4 separate regions of the Homo sapiens genome follow, and regions 2, 3 and 4 are each linked to region 1. Evidence: promoter capture Hi-C in 16 types of primary human blood cells and fetal thymus (Javierre and others, 2016). All regions are on one chromosome and are shown on one strand. The core of a region is centred on a gene start or on the middle of the fragment in contact, and the rest is flanking DNA. Distances in the headings are between cores, read along the strand shown. Region 1 holds the start of ALKAL2 (ALK and LTK ligand 2). Region 2 has its middle 21 kb from the start of LINC01874. Region 3 has its middle 5.3 kb from the start of FAM110C. Region 4 has its middle 37 kb from the start of LINC01874.

Region 1 (3,368 bases), core at 241-2,740:
GACAGAGACCACGAAGTTACAGAGGTAAGAAAACTGTTTTTTTTTTCTTTTAAACATTTAACTTCCAGTGAATAAGTCACTTTTAGGCACTTTAGTTTTAAGGACCTTGGGAATCAAATCCCACAACATTTCAAAGTTTTTAGAGAAAACCTGACCCTTCAAACAAAAAAATGGGTTACAGAACATTACTTTATCTAGATACATATTTAGAGTAAGGATTAAAAGACCACGTTTCAGTGAGGTGTAAATTAGTGGGAATATGCATGAACCTGGTTTGTAGGGTAAGAATCCCAGGGAAAGACTCTGCCAAGCAAACTTCTTCCACCAGGGTTCTCCGCACACAGTGGGTGGGGAGAACCCTGCAAGGGCGTTCTTCTTGAGTTCAGCTTTGTTTTTGCGTATTTACAGCCCTCTCCATCTTCACTCCCCCGTTCAGGGCTCCTGGCTGAGCCCCGACTGTGTGTGAAGTCACGCCCTCTGAAGAGGAGCATTCGCATCCACAGCTGACCCCCTAGTGAGTCTTCATTCACTCCTAACTTGACGCAGCCGGGATAAAACTGACCTTATCATGTTTGACCTGATTGTGTCACAAAAGCATTAGACGCTTTCATGCTTTCCTGGGAAATTCCCCGTGGGCCACCACTCTGGGCAGGGCCATGAAGGAGCCTGGATGCTTCCTTTTCAGTTGGGAAAGCTTTGCTGGAAATGCTTCCATTTCCAAAGTGACGGTTGACAGTTTAGTGTGGAAACCACCGACCCGCGCCGCAGCTCACGCGCGCCAGAAGGAGACCAGGCGCTTCTCCGCCAGGCCTCATGCGCGGACCTATTGCTGCTATTTTCTTTTTCTTAAAAAAAAAAAAAAAAAAAAAAGGAATCCTGCTGTTCAGTGGTCAAAATTGATGTCTCTTTTTGAAACGTGTTTCTCAAAGACAATTCTATTTCCCAGCAGCCCCGGCCCTCGGGCGCGCTCGGCCCCACTCACCCACTCGCTGCTCCGGCGAAGGCCCCAGCCCCGCCGCCTCCGCGCGGCCCAGGGCGCAGTCCCGCCCGAGGAGCTGCAGGCCCTTGTGCTCCGCCGAGTGGTGCTTCCGCAGCTCCTGGACGAGTTCCACCACCAGCCGCAGCAGCGCCTGTCCGTCCGCCGGCTCCCGGGGCTCCGCGCCCCCCCGGCCGCGCCCCGCCGCCCCCAGCACCAGCAGCAGCCCCAGGAGGAGGGGGTGCCCGGGTCCGCGCATCGTGCGCTCGGGGCCGCGGGGCTGGGAGACTCCGACACGCGCCGAGAGCTGGGCTCGCTGCGAGAGAAGGGGCGCGGGGGGCCGGAGAGAAAGTCAGCGGGGGAGGGGGACGGAGCGCGGGGCGGGGGAGGGGAGGGGAGGCGGGAGGAGCCGCTGGCGCTGGACCCGGCCCCTCACCTCCGCGGACCCCGAGGAACAAGCCGGCAGGTGAGGGAGCCGCGGTCTCCTCGACGATCACGCCCGAGGTCCCGCCCACGGGGAGCGACCGCCGCTGGTGCGGAAAGGAGCCCCCGGAACCCGCCCGCCCGCCAGCCCGGCCCCTCCTAACTTTCGCCCGAAAGGCCGCGTCCGCCGAGCGCGCTGCGCCTGGCGCGGGCGCAACTTTCTTTCCCCTTTGGAAGCCGCGGGTGCCAGGCAGCTCCCCGGCCGCGGGCGGACCTCGGAGGGGCCGCGCTCCCGCGCCTACCGCTCTCCAAGAAGGCGGCGCCGCGCGCCGGGCCCGGCGGCCGCGCTCAAGTTTCCAGCGTCGCCTTTGCGCGGTGGTCGCCGGCGAGCGCCGAGTCCCCGAAGCCCACGGAGGAGGCCGGGTGCGGACCCTCGCGCTGGCCCCGGCCGCGCCACGTGCTGGAAGCCCCTCCACCTCCCGGCCATGGCGCCCTCCCGCACCTGCCCGGCGCCACCCGGGAGCCACCTGCGCGTCGTGGCCGGGCCGGTTACCTGGAGCCGCCGGAGTCGTCGCCGTCTGTGCGCACGTCTGTCCCCGCGCCCCGAGCTGCGCCACTACTCCATGCCCGGCGGGCGGAGCGCACGGGACGCGGGGACTCGGCCGCTCCGAGCGCTGGACCCACGGCCGACCTGGGGTGCGCCGGCTCCGAGTCCCGCCTCAGACCTCGGGGAGCTTCTTATCCCCGCGCCCGCCGACGTCAGGCGGGTCCCCAAGGGCTCCGAGCGGGGCTTTAATTAGAAGCCGCTGAAGTGTTAGTACCCCCATGCGGATCTTCGTCAGTCCCCCCGCCTCACCTCGCTCTCGCCTCCCCCCGTCTCCCGCTCCCCCTCAACTCCGCCCCCGCCCCCGCCCGGTCCCCCCACCCGCATCTCCACCGCGTCTCCCCCTCGCCCGCGCCCCGTCTCCCGCGCCCCTTCCCTCCCCACCTTCCCCATCTCCCGTCTCCTCCTCTCCTGCCCCACCTTCCCCCACTCCCCGTCTCCTCCTCTTCCCCCTGTTCTCCTCCCCCCGCCCCTCCCCCAGTCTGTTTCCCTCCGTTCCTGTCACTTGTGACAGGATGAGAAGAAACGCCTTTACCAGGAACTCGGTTCTGTTTTTGTCTAAATGTAGATCTTGGGCTATTAAAAAGGGAGCTGCCTGATTGCTTCGACATTTAATAAGTCAATTAGAGTCCATCCGTTTTGGAGGGATCCGCTCTCCGGACCTCGAGGGGTCTGCCCCGCCCGAGCCCAGTCCCCAGGTTCGGGTCCCCAAGCCCTGGTCCCCGAGGCGGGGCGGCCAGGAGGCAGGAGATGGGCGGGTGAGGACTCTCCACGGCCCCCGAGGTGCGCACAGCTGACCACCCGAGGAGGGGCAGGACCTGCACCCCCTCCCCAGACCCCCTGCGAGAGGACGAGCGAAGGTCCCTCCCCGGCAAGGACCGCGCCATCTGCGCGCTCCTCTGCGCTGGACCCTCGGCCCGCGGGTCCCTCGCGCCCCGGCAGGGAACGCCCGCAGGAGGGCACTTGCCTCCCGGACTCGTCTTTAAGAAAGTTTGGCTCTTTGGCCGAAGCCCGGCACATCTGTGAAAGTTCAGCAATTTGCCTCTTTTATTTTATTCTTGTAAAATGTATTATCAATCAGTTGCGCACTTTCCCATTCGATTGGTGCTTTCTGGGCAAGAGCTGGACGTCTTCCAAGTCCGCGATCTGTTTGGGAAAGGTGTTCTGAGTGCAATCAGAGAGGCGGAGTGGGCGAGAATTAAAGGCCTGCACCATGATCGGGGCAGTCGCAGGACCGCGGCGGGAAGGTGCTGGCCCAGGCGCACGTGAGCGCGGGCGGTGCGGGCGGAAGGCTCCGCGCCCCGATCCCCCAGCTCCCGGAGAGGCCCCGTCTGCGCCCGTCCCCGCGTCCTTTCTCTCTTCCTG
Region 2 (3,347 bases), core at 550-3,049, 180 kb after region 1:
AGGTGTTTAATTCTCATAGCACAGCTAGGCTAGCAGAGTTTTTAAGGTAAATTAACCAGAATAGACATGATCATGATAAATTCTCTGTCTTGTTCAATCTGCTATCAATGTGCCCAATTGTATAATGATGTCTACCAATGTCTTCCCAGGTTTCCAAAACGGCTCACGAAAATGAGGTGTACACTCATTTGGCTTTGTCCGGATTGTAAAAATATACCTGCACACCTCACCGTGTTTGACTTTTTCAAATCCAGCGGTGTGATTTGACAATCTGATGAGTTAATTTTTCTCCTTGTGCTTTCCTTTAAAAAATGGCCTTGGTAGGAAAGACACATAAAATTACACTGCACATCTTAATAAACTATTTCCGTTACTAAATGACTCAGCATTAGAGTTTGCTGGGGTGCAGGTATGCATTTTAAGAATGACAGTGTTACTTTATTATTTACCTGTAGCATGGGAAAATCCTTCGGGAACACAAAAACTGGGCAGTTAGGATATATTTTTGTTTATTATATTAGTTGTTTTATGAACATGAGTGTTTCCTATATGTTCAAAAGAGCTGGAATGTGGGCTTATTATAATCTCTTTTATAGATCAAATTTATAGCTGTCTTCAAATAAAAGTTTGTGGAACAATACAATTTATTGAGCATACACACTTCCTCTTTCAGTCTCTGATCCCAAACAGATATCAGGAAAGGATCAAAGCTAAAAATAAATGAATGCCTGGGAAGTGCCAGAAGCAGGCAATGCCACATCTTTCTCAAGCTCCACAATCACAAAGACAAGCCCTTGCATTCTGACTGCCTATCTGCAAGAGGACAATGGAAAATTATAAATATAAAGTTACATTTAAAACTATCAGCACTGAAGAAAGGCGCACCAGGATGTCCACTTCTCTGAGATGGAGCTGCCGCATTCCTCGCCGGGGTGCCCCTTAAACTGAAACACCTTAGACATAACCACAAGCACTTCTCCCAAAGGGGAGAAGAAAACAGGCAGCCTCGGGACCTCAGAAGCTGAGGAAAAACAGAGTTGCCCCCTGACCCTGGAGCTCCCATCCACCCAGAACAAGTGAGTCCCTGCTCTCCTGCAGCTCCCAATCCACTTAGAACAGGTGAGTCTCTGGCCCCCTTGCAGGTCCCAATCCCCCCAGGACAGGTGAGTCCCTGGTCCCCTGAAACTCCCATTCACCCAGGACAGGTGAGTCTCTGACATCCTTGCAACTCGTTCTATCCAAAACAGGTGAGTTCCCTGACTGCCTATTTGTTATCATAGATTCCAGACAGGAGCTGCAGAAACTCTAACCAAACTACTAGTGCCCACAGGCACAAAAGCTTCAAGGAAAGCCTCCTTCCTTTGTCAAAGGCTTGGGCCAAGGTTGCCTAACCATAGAAAACAAAAGGCAGTATTGTTCTACTTCAGAAAACATAAAACATTGGTTTTAGAGGGTAGAAGAGAAAGCTGATCTTCCACTTCTCTCTTTGCCTCTGGTGGGGTGGAGTTGGGCAGAGTGGGGCCCGAGTCTGCATCCCACCTTGAGCAGAAGCAGAAAGCTCTGATGCCTCCCGGGGTCTGTACTGCAGAAGCGAGGACGGCCTGGTCTCCCATCCCCTTCACATGGAGGCAGCAGTGCTTTGGTTCCTCCCCCAGAGTAGTGTCAGTGGGGTCCATCCTCTCCCAGCAACAGTGGGATCTAACAGGCAGTGTGAGGTAGTGGGTCCGAGCACGGAGCCGAGCTCCCACCCCACCTGGTGTCTACAAGGCAGAAGGTGGTGGTAAGAGGTGGTAGCTGGCTCTCTGCTGACCTCCCTCTTCTCTTTGGTGTCAGCGAAGCCCGGAAGGAAAATGATTTCACGCCCCACTTGGAGGCACCAAGGGGATGTGGTCAGTGGCCTTTTGTGATGACGTCACAGGGTCCCAGTGGGAAGCTGGACATAGATCCCCACCTGGCCAAGCTATGCCTCAGCAGGAAAACTGCCTGCCAGCAAAGCAGATAAGAAGGTGCAGACTCTACTCATATAGTAAATTGATAATCTCCTACGTATAATAGATAGTCTCCCACTTATTGTCCAGGATGCAGTAAAATCACTTACCACATTAAAAGCAGCAAAATTATAACATAAATGAGGAAAGACAACAAATACTAATAGTGAGATGGCTGGATGCTGGAGTTATCTAGCAAGGGCTCTCAAGCAGCAATATAAATATGCTTCAACAAACATTTATGAATTACCTTGAAACAAATTAACAAATAGAAAGCTTCAGGAAAATCTAAAAACTATACATTGAGCATCACATGACATGCTGTGATAATTTTTTTCTTTAACTATCAAATATAATTTAAGAGGCTCTTCAGAAGCATAATAGTCTATATATTTACCCCTATTTTTATCCATTCCAATGTTTTTTTCTTTCCTTTCTGAAGTTCCCTTTTCCAGTTATCATATCCTTTCTGTATGGAGAATGTCCTGTAGCAATTTTTAAGGGCAGGCTCAGGCTTGCTATTGATACGTTAACTTAGATTTTCTTTTACTTGAAATATTTTTATTTTCCCTTGAAATTTTTTTTTCACAGAATATAGAATTCTGGGGAGACAGTTTCCAAGTGCTGAAAAGAAAAATACTCCAGCCTGGGTGACAAAGTGAGACCCTGTCTCAAAAAATAAAAAAATTTAAAAAAGATAAAAAGAGAAAAAAAACCTGTCTGTCCAGAATTCTAAATCCAGTAAATGTAATAGACTGCTCTGTTTCTCAAGGGTTTCTTAATCACTTTTAACAATTAAAGTAAGATGTTATACTATCTAAGGTGGTGTTTAATGTATGTGGAAGAAATGTTTAGGACAATTATATTTTAAACTTGGGGAGAGTAATGGGATTTAGGTGGAAATAAGATTTCTATACTTCACTCAACATCCTAAACATGTGTTCTAAACTGTGATAAGTTGTGTATGTATATTGTAATACCTACAGCAACAACAAAGAAAATTATACCAAGTTGTATACTCAAAAATCTATAAATAATTAAAAATAGAATCCCACAAAGGGACTCAACTATCTAAAAGGAAGGTAAGAAAAGAAAAATATAGAAAGGGAGAATAGAGGAAAATGATAAATAGCAGACAAATGATAAATAGTAGAATTAAGCCCTAAAAATATCCTAAATACCCATATTGTGAATGGCCTAAATACACCAATCAAAAGAGAAGTTATCAGAGTGGATAAAAACATATGTTCCAACAATAGGCAGTCTATAAGCAACTCACTTCAAATACAACAATATAGGTAGGTTGAAAGTAAAAGTATGGAAAAGGGAATGTTAATTTTTTAAAAATGCAGAAGTGGC
Region 3 (3,445 bases), core at 839-3,338, 240 kb before region 1:
TAGTCATTGCAGCACTATTCATAATAACAAAGACATGGAATCAATGAAGATGCCCATCAGTGGTGGACTGGGTAAAGAAAATGTGCTACATATACACCATAGAATACTATGCAGCCATTAAAAAAGAGTGAAATCATGTCCTTTGCAGCAACATGCATTTAGCTAGAGGCCATTATCCTAAGCAAACTAATTCAGGAAGAGAAAACCAGATCCCACATATAAGTGGGAGCTAAACATTGAGTACATATAGACACAGAGAACGGAACAATAGATACTGGGGACTGCTTGATCGTGGGAGGGTGAGGAGAGGGCATAGGTTGGAAGGCTATCTGTGGGTACTATGCTCACTATCCTAGTGATGGGATCATTTGTACACCAAGCATCAGTGACCCACAATCTACCCATGTAACAAACCTGCACATGTACTCACTGAACCTAAATTTAAAAAAAAAGTAAAACTACTATAACATTGTATTTAAGACTTACTGCTATTAGACAAAACTAATTATATTTATATTCATGATATTTCATGTATTAAGCAAATAATTTACTAGAAAAATGGAACTGATAAATATAATATTGATGAGAATTATCTAAATAAGTTGTTCTTGTTGCTCAACTGATAGTGTCATCTTTGTGTCCATTTCCTTTCTAGAATCACTTCAAAAGACTTGGTCAGAGCAGGAAAAAATGCTTAAGGACTCAATAATCTAGGAACTCTACTCCCAGGAATGTATTCTAAGGAACAGATAAGAGATGTGTGCACCGCATGAAGATATTCATTGCAGTCAAATGGGGGAGGTCAACCTACATGCAAGTACAGGAGGAAGGCTGGAGGATGTATGACTTACCTGTGGGTGGAGTATTATGCATCCATTTACAGTCATGCTTCCAGAGTGTTTTTCAGAGTGGGAAGTGATTGTGATGTGTATGAAATTTTAAAAATAGCATGAATATAGAAGCAGTCCTCAGCATACAGTCCAGGGAATGTGGGGGCTCCTGATATCTTTTTGGGAGGTCTATGAGGTCAAAATTACTTTCATTGATACCAAGCAACAGGCTTCATGCCCAAAGTCCATAGAACTAGTGCTAACATAGTTTGGATGTTTGTCAATTCCAAATCTCATGTTGAAATGTGCTTGCCAACTTTGGAGGTGGGGCCTGGTGGGAGGGATTTGACAGTAGGGGTAGATCCCTTATGAATGGTTAGCCCTGTCCTCTTGGTGATGAATGAGTTCTTGCTCAGTCAGTTCATGGAGATCTGGTTGTTTAAAAATCTGGGACATCCCTCCCCTCTCTCTCTTGCTCCTGCCTTCACCATGTGACAAGCCTGCTCCTGTTTCACCTTCCACCATGATTGTAAACTTCTTGCCCTCACCACAAGCAGAGAAGATGTTGGTGCCATGCTTGTATGGAATGCAGAACCATGAGCCAATTAGACCTCTTTTCTTTATAATTACTCAGCCTCGGGTGTTTCTTTATAGTGATGCAAAAACAGACTGATATAAATACTATGGCTCTGGCTTTTGAGAAAAGATAAAGCTTTACTGTGAGTTGACTGGCAAGGAGACAGAAGGCAACACTCAGATCTGTCTCCCTGATCTTGGGGTGGGTAAAGCTTTTATGGCATTTCTAAGTAGTCCCAGGTGATGCCAATGCAGCTGGCCTGCCGGGCTAGTGGTGTAAAGAGTTAGGTTAAATCTTTTTCATTGCACATGCCCGGGATACATGACTTGCAGTTTTGGCTCTGTGCTACCTATAACAACTTATGCAATGGTAAATTGGCTTAAGTTGTTACCATGGTTACAAGACTAAGAATTGAATTGTCTTTTCTTTCTCCATTTCTTATGAGTATATAGTGGAGTTATCAAGAACCTAGTGACTGCTGAAATGCCAGAATATTTAGAGCTAATAATGTGTGCATTCAAAACATTTATCAGGCCAGATTTGGCAGCTCATGCCTGTGGTCCTAGCACTTTGGGAGGCCGATATGGTTTGGATCTGTGTCCCCATCAAATCTCATGTAAAATTGTAATCCCCAGTGTTGGAGGTGGGGCCTGGTGGGAAGTGACTGGATCATGAGGGCGGAGTTCTCATGAATGGTTTAGCGCCGTCCCCACTTGGTACTGTATAGTGAGGAAGTTCTCACGAGATCTGGTTGCTTAAAAGTGTGGGGCACTTCCCCCACTCTCTTTCTCGGTCCTGCTACTGCCATGTAAGATACCTGCTCCCACTTTGTCCTCTGCCATCAGTAAAAGCTCCCTGAGCCCTCCCCAGAAGCAAATGCTGCCATGCTTCATGCATAGTCTGCAGAACTTGAGCCAATCAAACTTCTTTTCTTTAGAAATTACCTAGTCTCAGGTATTTCTTTATAGCAATGTGAGAATAGATGAATACAGAGGCTAAGGCAGGTGAATTATTTGAGGCCAGAAGTTTGAGACCAGCCTGAGCAATATAGCAAGACCCGCATCTCTTAAAAAAAGTAAAAAAAAAATTAAAAAGTATTGATCAACTTATATTTTAATATAGTAGATATTAATAGATATAAGCCATTAAACCAAAGCTTATTAAGACCTTCAATAACTTTTAAGAGTGTTAAAGAGGTGTTGAGAATAAAATGTTTAAGAATTATTGGTATATATTATAAGAATAAATATTAAAACTGTGTAAGTACAGGGAAAAATGACAGGCAAGCACACATTGAGTTTTTTCTCATTTATTCATTAAAGAAACATTACTGAGTCCATATTAGGTGCCAAGTGTTCGACTCCATACTTTCAAATTTGTCAACTGATAGAAAACTAGGAACAGGAGAGAAATTCCTAAAATTGTTAAAGGGGCTCTATCCTTACCTTCAGCACCATACTTAGTGGTGGATTTTTAAAGCATTCTATAAAGATAGTAACAACATAAGGATACACATTATTGTCCATGTTAGTCAAATGTACTGGGCTTTCTAGCCAGTAAATAGAGAAAAAAATAACTACAGAGTATAAAGACTGGGGGAAACAAAGAGGCAAAATTCCCCTTATAACAGGCAATGTAATTGACTATTTCAAACCTCCAAGAGACTGGACATAGTATTAGAACTAACAAGACATTTCAACAAGATTGTTGGACAAAGAACACATGCAAAGATAAAGAATATTCATAAACACTAGCAATAATCAATTTAAAAATGTACCAGGAAAAATAATCAAGACATAATACTAAGAAAATCCATATGGAATCTGGTAATACATCTCAAAAAGACACAAGACATGCTTATAGAATATTATAAAATATTTTGACAGATATAAATGAAGAGATAAATAAATAGATGTGCCACATTCAAGGATAGTCAGAATCAACATTGTAATGATGTGAATCGTCTTAAATTTTTTTTAAAGAGGAACTCAATGCAATTAGAGACAAAACCCTAGGCTGGGTGCAATGGCTCATATCT
Region 4 (3,499 bases), core at 267-2,766, 170 kb after region 1:
CAAATGCTCAGGGAAGCCAGGGAATGTCTACATACTTCTAAGTATTTGATGTATGTCTTAATTTCACATGAAATACTTTGATGTATGTTCAATTATCCTGCTTGATAAATAAGGAAATTAAGGAGGTTTTTAAAAAATTATGAAAATGCTCAGAACTTGCCCTAATTTATACTTATGCTGGAACTAAGAGAAAGATATCCCAGAGATCAGAATTTTCTGTTATGTCATTCTAAATAATCCTACTTAGGAGGTAAGGGACTTTTAAAATGTGGTAAAAACTCCCATCCCCTCTTCTCTTCTTTTCTTTTTTATTCTATTCTTTTTTTTTCGAGGTAGGGTCTGGCTCTGTTGCCCAGCCTGGAGTACAATGAACCTATCACAGCTCACTGCAGCCTTGGCCTCCCAGGCTCAAATGATCCCCCTGCCTCAGCCTTCCAAGTAGCTGGGACCATAGACACATGCCACCATGCCCAGCGCAGTTCGTAGAGGCAGGATCTCCTTATGTTGCTCAGACTGGCCTTGAACTCCTGGCCTCAAGCAGTCCTCTCACCTTGGCCTCCCAAAGTGCTGGGATTACAGGTGTGAACCACCGTGCCTGGTCCAATTATTCTCGAGAGGCTTAGCAAACAACATTCTCATAAAATATAACGAGCCATAACTGCACACACAAATGTGAAAAATCTTGTTTAATCAGTATAATATGACCAAATAAATTTAGAAACAATATCACACTCAATAACGATTTAAGTCGATAATTATTTTTAAATTATTGTAGTAGAGTAGATGTTTAGCTAAAAATAGTTTTTTTCTGCACAGAAATGTAACCGATAGAAGACCCTGATTTCCCCCTAACCAAACCCATGTCTGTGTTGTCAGGCCTGCGGGAGGCCAGGCAAGGGCTGGTGTGGTCACGCTGTGTCCTCAACGCCCAGAGCAATGCTGAACAGGTGGCAGGTACCCAGAACAGTGCAGCTTTCTAGTCCGGCAGAACTGTATTTGTAATGAAAAGATTCTGCATAAAGCTTTGTCTAGCATTGGATTAAAGTATGACGGAGATCCCCAGAGATACCAAGTCCCAAATGGCAAAAAGTACAACATGATCAATAAGTGCCATCAAAACCAAAATCTTATTCAGGACTGAACGCTTTCTTTGACTTGCAAAGGATCCGGCGTCTAAGGATGCCCAGGCCACTCCGTGGGGTGTGCAGAGGCCTTTCACGCAGCACTTTCTGCCGTCCTCAGAAGCTGCTGGCAGCTGCTGGCTTTCCCTTTGCTCCGCCCTGTTTTCTAGACTGCGGGGTCTCTGGACTCTGCATGGCAGTGTGTTGATTCTTCTGTTTCATCCTGTAACTTTGTGATTTCATGGTTCAGTCAGGGGTGGGCCAGCATTTCCTGTAAGAGTTTCTCATGAAAGGCCCGTGTGCACGGCTGCTATGAGAGGGAACCCATCGCCCTGCAGAACCTGCTTGTGTGACTTTTGTGGTTTGGGCGACATTGGGTCAGCCATGCGCGTGGTGCCAGGAACCTGCACTCAACACCTCCACATGCGGAGGACACCTAAAACCCAGGAGGAAGTTGAGCTGTCCATCACATGTGTGGTGCTTCCCCGCTGGGATGTCCACTCACTTGGGAGAGCCGTGTCTGTGGACGCAGGTTTCTTGCAGTCACGTCTGTGGCAGATAAGAGGGATCCAGGGTTAGGACTGAAAAAGAGAAGCAAAACCATAGAGCAGTGGTGGGCTGTGAAATACTGCCTTTAAAGAAAGTGTTTAACGGAATTTATCTTGGAGACAGTTTCCAGAAAGTGAGTTACAAGCTCAGGATTTCTGCCACTCCTCTTTACTCTCCTTCTCCATGGCTGCCTTTTCCGAATGAGCTGTGACATGACAGCCCTTCTATCCTAGTTGTGGGGATGCTCTCTGTCAATAACTCACTTCAAAACCACTAATTTGATCATTTGATCTTTTAATTTCTGAGATTAGAAAACACAGTACAATTACAAGTTTAAAACAAAGCTTAATCTATGTTTAATATACCATGTGAATATAAGTTTAAATTACCCACAGGATTTCTAAAGCATCAAATTGCTTATATTTCTAGGTAGAGCCTGAAATGTTGGCAAAAGAAATTCAAGTGACAAACAAACATATCTTGCATGTATCCTGGAGCAATTCTGTTGTAAGCCTTGTAAAAACATGCTTCAATGAGAATAATCATTCTTTTCAGGCTGCGGAATTTGCTTAATAATTACACCCTGGAAAGGGGTGTGCTGGTGAACAGAGCACAATAGCACAATAATTGCAGAAACCTTGAGCCTGGGCTCCGTGTTACCTCACTGAACAGAAAGACCCATTAGTCCTACCTCATTGCTGTGGGCATGGATTTCCCAAGAGTTGGGGAACATGGAATTGAATGTATTAGGAGGGAGGGAGTGTGGAGTAGGAGGGTGGACAGAAAGGCCACTATCCCACCCAGAAGTCACCAGAAGGTTGGACAGAGAGGCCAGCATCCTACCTGGGAGACGTGGGCTCAGCACAGCTGCTGAACATGCCATCCTAAACAGGGAGTTTGAGCAGCATTGTTAAAAGACTCAGGAAATAACACTTTATACAAATATTTAATGTCCTTTATAAATGCTTGGATTAATCCGTTCTCATGCAGCTAATAAAGACATACCCAAGACTGAGAAATTTATAAAGCAAAGAGATTTAATTGGCTTATAGTTCCACAGGGCTGGGAGGCCTCAGGAAATGTAACATCATGGCAGAAGGGGAAGCAAACATGTCCTTCTTCACATAGTGGCAGAGCTAAGGGGGAAAAGCCCCTTATAAAACCATCAGATCTGGTGAGAACTCACTCACTATCATGGAAACAGCATGGAGGTAGCCACCCCCATGATTCAAATACCTCCCACCAGGTCCCTCCCACAACACGTGAGAATTATGAGAACTACAATTCAAGATGAGATTTGGGTGAGGAGACAGTCAAACCATATCAATGCTTGTTTAAAATCCTACAGAAGACACATTGCCTATCCAGTCCAGAAGCCAAACAGCCTACTGGGGCTGGGGGCCATAGATTCAGCTGAGAACACAGCAGGGGCTGAAGTCTCTGCTACCATCCTCTCCATCGTCCCTTCATGCTGCAGGGACTAATGTAGCAAAATCACCATTTAATGGAATTACAAGACATCGACTAGTCCATGTATATTCCAACTCAAAGAACAGCCGGCAAACACAGTGAAGTTTAGACCAAACCAGGGAAGATGCCAAGAGCAGAAAGAAACATTGAATGCATTCGCAGAGTGAAAAGGCCAATGCTGATGTTTTCTTCAGGAGAGAGAGAATTAGAGGCTTCTCTTGCTGTAAAACTGTCCCTAACCATGTGGTTCTGTTGCCTAAGTTTCAGGTGAGTGGGACCCAGAGGGGAAACCTCACCGCCCCTGTCATCCCTGTGGAGCAGTCCAGAGGAGGGGTGGGGCAGAGAGCAGCATCTGGGAA

What was found. The method cuts DNA at HindIII sites, captures the fragments that hold promoters and counts their contacts. A CHiCAGO score of 5 or more calls a contact.
Region 2: a contact is called between a fragment that was not itself captured here and the fragment with the promoter of ALKAL2 in region 1, in 1 of 17 cell types (total B cells). The highest score is 5.1, in total B cells.
Region 3: a fragment that was not itself captured here is called in contact with the fragment with the promoter of ALKAL2 in region 1 in 1 of 17 cell types (total CD8 T cells); the score reaches 5.2 in total CD8 T cells.
Region 4: a fragment that was not itself captured here is called in contact with the fragment with the promoter of ALKAL2 in region 1 in 1 of 17 cell types (total B cells); the score reaches 5.5 in total B cells.

Annotation. Positions count from the first base shown.
Region 1 is chr2:286,601-289,968 of GRCh38, forward strand. ALKAL2 (ALK and LTK ligand 2) reads right to left here and starts at 1,491. Exons shown (of 6, transcript NM_001002919.3): 1 at 1,413-1,491; 2 at 983-1,292. The coding sequence starts at 1,235. It overlaps LOC101927262 (a long non-coding RNA gene), which reads left to right. Exons shown (of 3, transcript XR_007085917.1): 1 at 1-24. RefSeq lists a silencer at 1,006-1,055. The HindIII fragment of the contact is 4,532 bases long and covers 693-3,368 here.
Region 2 is chr2:469,859-473,205 of GRCh38, forward strand. No RefSeq gene overlaps it. Among named protein-coding and RNA genes, the nearest start is that of LINC01874, 21 kb to the right of the region's middle. The HindIII fragment of the contact is 925 bases long and covers 1,338-2,262 here.
Region 3 is chr2:50,048-53,492 of GRCh38, forward strand. No RefSeq gene overlaps it. Among named protein-coding and RNA genes, the nearest start is that of FAM110C, 5.3 kb to the left of the region's middle. The HindIII fragment of the contact is 945 bases long and covers 1,617-2,561 here.
Region 4 is chr2:453,816-457,314 of GRCh38, forward strand. No RefSeq gene overlaps it. Among named protein-coding and RNA genes, the nearest start is that of LINC01874, 37 kb to the right of the region's middle. The HindIII fragment of the contact is 992 bases long and covers 1,021-2,012 here.